Regions from separate parts of the Homo sapiens genome. Here region 1 is linked to region 2. Evidence: promoter capture Hi-C in human tissues and cell types (Jung and others, 2019). All regions are on one chromosome and are shown on one strand. The core of a region is centred on a gene start or on the middle of the fragment in contact, and the rest is flanking DNA. Distances in the headings are between cores, read along the strand shown. Region 1 has its middle 11 kb from the start of GIGYF2. Region 2 holds the start of KCNJ13 (potassium inwardly rectifying channel subfamily J member 13).

Region 1 (4,015 bases), core at 901-3,400, 90 kb before region 2:
GATAACTTGAGCCTCGGAGTTTGAGTGCACCCTGAGTAACACAGTGAGACCCCATCTCAAAAAAAAAAACTAATCTGAAAAGGCTATATGCTATTTGATACCAACTATGGTATGACATCCTAGGAAAGGTAAAAGTGTGAAGACATTGAAAAGATCAATGGTTGTCAGCGAGGAGAGAGGGAGGGATGAATAAACGCAGCACAGAGGACTTTTAGGGCAATGAAACTTATTCTCCATGATGCTATCGATGCTGGTGGATGAATGTCTTATACATTTGTCAAAACCTATAGAATGTGCAACACAAAGAATGCACCCTAGGCTGAGTGCAGTGGCTCATGCCTGGAATCCCAGCACTTTGGGAGGTGGAGGCAGGAAGATCACTCAAGCTCAGGGGTTTGAGACCAGCCTGGGCAATATAGTTAGATCCTGTGTCTACCAAAAAACTTTTAAAACGCCAAGCTTGGCCGGGAGCGGTGGCTCATGCCTGTAATCCCAGCACTTTGGGAGGCTGAGGCAGAGGGATTGCTTGAGCTCAAGAATTTGAGACCAGCTGGGGCAATATAGTGAAACCCCATTTCTATCAAAAATACAAAAAAATTAGCTGGGCATGGTGGCAGGCATCTGTGGTCCCAGCTACTTGGGAGGCTGAGGCTGAGGTGGGAGGATAGCTTGAGCCCAGGAAGTGGAGGTTGCAGTGAACTGAGATCGTGCCACTGCACATCAACCTGGGTGACAGAATGAGACCCTGTCTCAAAAAAAAAAAAAAAAAAGGCCAAGTGTGGTGGCATGCGCCTGTGCTCTCAGCTACCCAGGAGGCTGAGGTGGGAGGATGGATTGAGCCCAGGAGGAGAAGGTTGCAGTGAGCCAGGATCATGCCACTGCACTCCAGCCTGGATGACTGATTGAGAGCCTGTCTCAAAAAGGAAAAAAAAAGAATGCATCCTAATATTAACTATGGAGTTTAATAATGCATCAATATGGGCATATCAATTGTAACAAATATACCACATTAATATAACATAATAATAGGGAATGGGGAGTTAGGGTGAGAGGGGTACATGGGAACATGTACTTTTGGCTCAGTTTTTCTGTAAACCTAAAACTTCTCTAAAAAATAAAGTCTAGGGTGGGCGTGGTGGCGGCTCATGCCTGTAATCCCAGCACTTTGGGAGGCCTAGGTGGGTGGATCACCTGAGGTCAGGAGTTCGAGACCAGCCTGGCCAACATGGTGAAACCCTGTTTCTACTAAAAATACAAAAAATTAGCTGGGAGTGGTGGTGCACGCCTGTAATCCCAGCTACCCGGGAGGCTGAAGCAGGAGAATTGCTTGAAAACTGGAAGGCGGAGGTTGCAGTGAGGTGAGATGGTGCCACTGTACTCCAGCCTGGATGACAGAGCAAGACTCCATCTCAAAAAGATAAATAAATAAATAAATAAATAAATAAATAAATAAATAATAAAGTCTAATGGTGAAGGAGACGAGAAAAAAAGGCTATTCATTTAAAAAGAAGGAAGAGAATGGAGATAGCAGTGTCATTTACTTGAAGCATCCGTTTGCCTTTCTGGACAAGTGGGCCCACATAAGAGCTAAAACTCTCGATTGCTTGTCACAAATTGTGAAAATAAAAATAAATAAATAAGGCTGGGCGCAGTGACTCATGCCTGTAATCCCAGCACCTTGGGAGGCTAATGCAGGTGGATCACTTGAGGTCAGGAGTTTGAGACTAGCCTGGCCAACATGGCAAAACCTCATCTCTGCTAAAAATACAAAAAAATTAACCGAGCGTGGTGGCGTGTGCCTGTAGTCCCAGCGACTCGAGAGGCTGAGGCAGGAGAATCCCTTGAACCCAAGAGGCGGAGGTTGCAGTGAGCCGAGATCACACCACTGCATTCCAGCCTGGGTGACACTGTCTCAAAAAATAAAAATGAACAATAAATAAATAAAACTTTTGATTGCAAGCAATAGAAACAACTTCTGATTGCAAGCAATAGAAAATCCAACACGAAAGGACTTCAGACAAAACAGGACACGTGGGGCCATGTCACTACAAAGGCCAGGTAGAGGATGTCGTTCCTCCCTCTTGGCCACAGAGTCCCCGGGAGGCCGCTCCCTTGTGCCTCCCACCCTCCATCTCCAGCGCCATGGTCACAGCTCAGACCTTCATAGGTTCCTTCCTGGGTCTCTACCGTGAGCTCCTCATTGGTTTCTCTGCCCTCATTATACCTGATTGTCCGCTTTGCAGCTGGAGTAATTCTTAGAAAATGCAAACCAGTTCTTAACATCTCTCCTTCAATTTTTGATTCCCCACTTGCAGGAGCTGGCCCCAACTCATCCCTCCAACTCCATCTTTTGTCCCTCCTCCCTGCCCTGTCTCCTTCCAAACTCTACACTCCTGGTATATGCGATGCCTAACTGTTCCTAGAAAATTCCACACCTCCAGGCTTTTGCATATGTGGTTTCCTCTGCCTGGCACTCCCTCCCTCCCTTCCACAGGTGGATTACTTCTCACTGTTGAAGACTCAGCTCAGAGATTATCTTCAGGAAGCTTCCTTGATGCTTCCAGGCCAGGTAAGGTGTCCCTTCTCAGGGCTCCCATTTCCCTGAGTTTCTCTCTACTGTAATCCTGACAGCTTGAGGCAGTAGCCATCTCCTTACTTCTCAGCCCCGCTGTTTGGACTGTGTACTCTTTGCAGGGCAGGAAGTTTGCCTTGCCTATTGCTATAGGCCCAGCATGCTGCGTGGCATGTAGCAGGCAACCTTGCATGTTGGTTTCACAAGGACATGCCAGGTTTGTTAAAGCAGACAGATGGGCAAGGCAGGATCATTACCACTGATGTCAGAGACTTCTGAGTACTCCACCATGAGAGCCTGAGGGGCCAGCTCTGAAAGTGGAGACTGGCTGGGTGTGATGGCTCACCCCTGTAATCCCAGCACTTTGGGGGACCGAGGCGGGTGGATCACCTGAGGTCGGGAGTTCGAGACCAGCCTGACCAACATGGAGAAACCTCGTCTCTACTAAAAATACAAAATTAGCTGGACATGGTGGTGCATGCCTGTAATCCCAGCTATTTGGGAGGCTGAGGCAGGAGAATTGCTTGAAACCGGGAGGTGGAGATTGCAGTGAGCCGAGATTGTGCCACTTGCACTCCAGCTTGGGCAATAAGAGCGAAATTCCACCTCAAAAAAAAAAAAAAAAAAAAAAAGAAAAGAAAAGAAAAGAAAAGAAAAGACAGGAAAGTGGAGACAGCAGAGCTTGTGAGAATATCTTTCTCACTGGAAGAGAGAGAGGTCACTCCCCAGGGCCCTCCTTTGACTGAGCAATAGGAAAAACAACACACCAATTAGTCTTGCCTAGGCCCTGGAGGCTGTGTGATCTAACGAAATTTGGACTCGAACACTAGGCAAGTAACTGAACCTCACTGAGCCTCCATTTTCTCACCTGTAAAATGGGCATGATGGTGACCTACCTGGCAGATTCCACGCCTGCCATATATTTAGTGCTCAGGACACACGGGTTCCTCTCTCTCCCCTCCCTCCCTCCACTACTGTAACTCTGTCTCCTCCTGCGCCCTGAGTCTCTACAGTTAGGTCCAAGAGTCTCAGGCCAGGGTAGCCCAGAAGTGCTCAGTCCTGGCTGCTGTCTTGGCCACAAGTGCAGATGCCCACGGACCCATGTTCTCTGTTATTTTGAGACCCCTTTTCTGACCAGCCCAGGGGAATTTCTGCCCATCTGCTGGCTCACTTGCATGCTCCTGGCGGCTGCCAGTTACTGAATGTGGTCTGACAGCTGTGGTTTTGTCGCTGCTCAGATTTCTCCTTGCTGACTCTGCCTGTCCACGAGGCCAGATGCTGGCACATCACTGCCCACTTGGACTGACAGTACTATACAAGAATGATGCCTTCTGGGTCCTGTAATCCCAACACTTTGGGAGGCCAAGGCAGGAGGACTGCTTGAGCCCACGACTTCAAGACCAGCCTGGCCAACACGGCAAAGCCTCATTTCTACAAACAAAT
Region 2 (3,712 bases), core at 897-3,396:
GATAGTCCAGTTGTGTTTTGCACATCAGTAAAATTAAAGCAATGTAGAGAGGAGAGTTATGACATAACATTGCCAAGTTTCTGTTTTGCCAGATGAGAAGACAATTTTACAAGTATAATACTGTCATTATAAATAAAATTATGATGACATAATAAAAGATTTTGACACATGGAAGAAGGATATAACAATGAAAGGATAGTTGGTTGCCTTCAAAATGGTGGGTGAACAACTTTGTCATTCTCCACTGTTGTTGCTTCCTGCCTATGTGAAAATGCCCCTCATGCTCCTGGACACTAGTGCTTGTTCCACATTTGGAGCCACTGTCCTACTGAATGCTGCTAAGTGCTTAGTGTTTCACAAAAGCTTGAGAAAGAAAAAACTCCATGATTCTTTTGTATTTTCAACCTATTTTATGAAAGTTCTAAAATTCCTTACTTAGAGCCTTTCTGTATAGACTGTAGCTAACAAAATTCATCATTCTCATTTGGGCTTTTTCAGGACTGTTGTTACTTCTTACCTACAACTTTTGTAGCACTCTTACTCTAGGCTCTTTACAATTGTATTTTTTTTCTCTTGCAACTAAATACATGGAAAAACCTGTGAACAGGGAAGTCAAAAGGCTGATAATCGGAACAGTTAAGCAGCATTTTTTTTTTTTTAACCTAAGACTGCTGGATTTGGTTTGGATTGTGTTGGCAAGTGGAGTAATATAGAGAAGGAAGATTGATTTCTGATTCCCACTTAACCAATTACCCTGAATAACTATTCTGTGGACTCTTATAGTCAGTGTGGTTTAGTGTAGAGAACGCAGGATAAGGGGATATGGCCTTCAGGCTCTAGCACTGTTGGTTACATAGCTGTGTCATTTTGGGCAAACCACTCAATCCCATTGGCCTGGCATCCTTAGATTAAAACAAAGAAAGTGAAAAAAGAGGGAATTATGATAATAAGATTTCTTAAAGCTCTACAGACTTATGTAAACAAACATATTTCCACTTCCTACAAAGGATACAAGTTTCCTATATGATTTCTTTTATTTCTGTATAGTTTGATGTCTGCTCGTATGGTTTAAAAAATTATACTATTGTTACCTGATATTTAAGTCTCATCAGCTGATCCCAATAGAAAGTGAGGTGGAAGGTTGGGAAGGTTTGCTTCTATTGCTGTGTGTGGGCTGTAAAATATTTGCCCATTTATAAATTATTTGGAGGAAAAATAGTACCTATTAAAAAATGATAGGCAGCTTCACTGATCATCAGAATTCATTCTACTCATTGGGTTGTAGCACTTAAAAGTATGTATTTTCTGTTGCCATGATAAAAAATAGTATAGTTCATACTGAGGAGTTAAGATAAAGGCTATAACTAACAAACATTAAATGAAGATGGCATTACTATGTATTTGTTCATGTCTGGTGTAAATACTTTAAGACTATATTGAAAGTCTTATAATGATTTCTCCTGCCCTCCACAATTAGGGCAAACACTATTGAGTTCTAACCCTGTTATATAAGCTCAGAGATTCTATTTTAATTTCTCAGTTGCAGAAGTATCTATTAATTTCCGCAATAATTCCATGCTTAAAAATTTACGATTAGGATACTCATCACTTTCTTCTTAGATTACAGAAGTAAAAACAAAGTGGCTTATTCTTTTGGCATTTGTTTTTTTATGCTCATTTTGGGTTTTTGAAATTCCTTCCAAAAGAAAAAGACTTTTTTTTTCCTCAAGCCACTGAATTTTTTTTCCTAAGGCCTTTATCCTCTACTGATATATTGTAATAGAAAATTAGTATACATTTAATAAAACAGTTAAGAAAATTTCCAGTAATACATTCAATATGGCTGTTATTGCATTTTTAAGATTTAAGGGAAAAGAATATAGAAACCTTACTATCCTACACTATAGATAATGTCTTTGTTTTAAAAATCTGTTGGAAGTAATCTAGCTCTGTTGCTATTTGCCAGTCAGTTTCTTTCCCTGTTTCCCATAAGGAAAGAAGAATGGATATTATTGCATGTACTCACCAGTTCTTTTGCTGGGTCAGCCTTTATGCCAAGGTAGGTCTTAAGGAAATTTACAGAGTCTGCCTTTTTGATCAGATAATTTTAATCTACAAGTCTAGTTTGTAGGTTCTCTTCTTGGACTGGTTTTACAGCTTACATTCCTCTGTTTATAATGTTGTGGGGGCTGGTTTCAGCTGAGGTTGATGTGATTGGTCACTTAGCCTGCAGGGGGGCCAATTAGCTCTGATCATGTGGAAAAGAATGCTGGTTTGTTAGGAGGTCTTTCTTTACCCAACACAAACCTTAACAACTCTGGAGAAAGCCTCCAGAACTGACTTGGAGAAGGGGTGCATTTTTTCCCTCTAATCAGGACCGGTCTTTAGTAAGTTTGCATAATCTTACTTAAGAGTTTTTTTGAAAGTTCAAAGGGATAAAATTCCCTGCAAGATTTTTCAGCCGTCTTTCCTTATATAGCATGTTGAAGTGTGAGATATTTCCTTTACTAATCTTTTTTTTTTTCCACCATGTCTTTGGGGAAGATTTATTTGGATAAGGACTTATAGGCATAAATTAATGCATTGATTTTCTTAGTTTTCTTCTCATGTCTCATCAGAATGGCTACCATTAGTTCCAGAACTAGTAATATAGATAATTACGTGAAATCTTTTATTTTTTTGGTTAGGAAACAAACTTTTTTTTTTTAAAGGCTGTATACAAAGACCTTGAATAGGAATAAAATTAATTGTTCTGTACCTGATACTTTAAAAAATGCACACCTGTGGGAAAGAACCGAAGAATTTTCTTAAGGCTTATTTTAATGATGTTTAGAAGATGTTTTCCTGATCAGTGTGATGAAGTATAGTGTTAATAAAACATAGTGTACAGTGTACAGAAAATGTAACACAACATTGAAATAGTGTTTAGCTGGAAAATGTGATCCAGCTTGTTGGAACCCTGAAACGTGCTGTGGTATGGCTTTGTGCAGTGCCTTAGTGAACAGTACTTTTCTCCTCCTCCGTTAGCTGCTGATTTTAAAACTTTGACCAAATGTCACATGTAAGAGGATCTGAGAAACAAAGACTGTGATTGTTCAAAGTAAAATCTTGGAAGGCCTGCTGGGAAAATTATTAATGTAGACCAATATAATGCTACTTAGAAAGTGAAATCCGCCTTTGTAGAATCCTCTCCGTCCCCCCCCCGCCCCACAATTTAAAAAATATATTAATTCCTTCTTTGTTTTATTAGTACCAAATACTTCAACACAAGTTCAGACACAGCATTAGAAACACTGACCTTCAGAACTAGGGAAGGTAAAGTATAAAGAAGGATTTGTGGTGTGATGCTCATTCCCTGCATGTACTGGTAGGAATTATAATGTGTATCAATTCCCAGCTAACAAATTGCAGAAAAACAGAACAACACAACAACAAAATACTAGAACAAGTATAGTATAATACTGCTTCTAGAAAGCAGAAGCACTTGAGTGTATCTGTCATGTGTTTTGAATATACATTGTATATTTTTTATTTTCATTTTTTTTAGACATAGAGTCTTGCTGTGTCACCCAGGCTGGAGTGCAGTGGTGTGATCACAGCTCACTGCAGCCTCGACCTCCCAGGCTCAAGTGATCCTCCCACCTCATCCCCCACCCCCTGCAGTAATGCCACCACATCTGGCTAATTTTTTATTTTTTGTAGAGGCAGGGTC

The links. The method cuts DNA at HindIII sites, captures the fragments that hold promoters and counts their contacts. A contact is called where the count stands out against the background at its distance.
Region 1: a contact is called between a fragment that was not itself captured here and the fragment with the promoter of KCNJ13 in region 2, in 2 of the 25 tissues and cell types used here (mesenchymal stem cells and spleen).

Annotation. Positions count from the first base shown.
Region 1 is chr2:232,684,153-232,688,167 of GRCh38, forward strand. No RefSeq gene overlaps it. Among named protein-coding and RNA genes, the nearest start is that of GIGYF2, 11 kb to the right of the region's middle. The HindIII fragment of the contact is 4,802 bases long and covers 1-4,015 here.
Region 2 is chr2:232,774,419-232,778,130 of GRCh38, forward strand. KCNJ13 (potassium inwardly rectifying channel subfamily J member 13) reads right to left here and starts at 2,147. Exons shown (of 3, transcript NM_002242.4): 1 at 2,027-2,147. All of the region lies in intron 8 of GIGYF2 (GRB10 interacting GYF protein 2), which reads left to right. The HindIII fragment of the contact is 9,389 bases long and covers 1-3,712 here.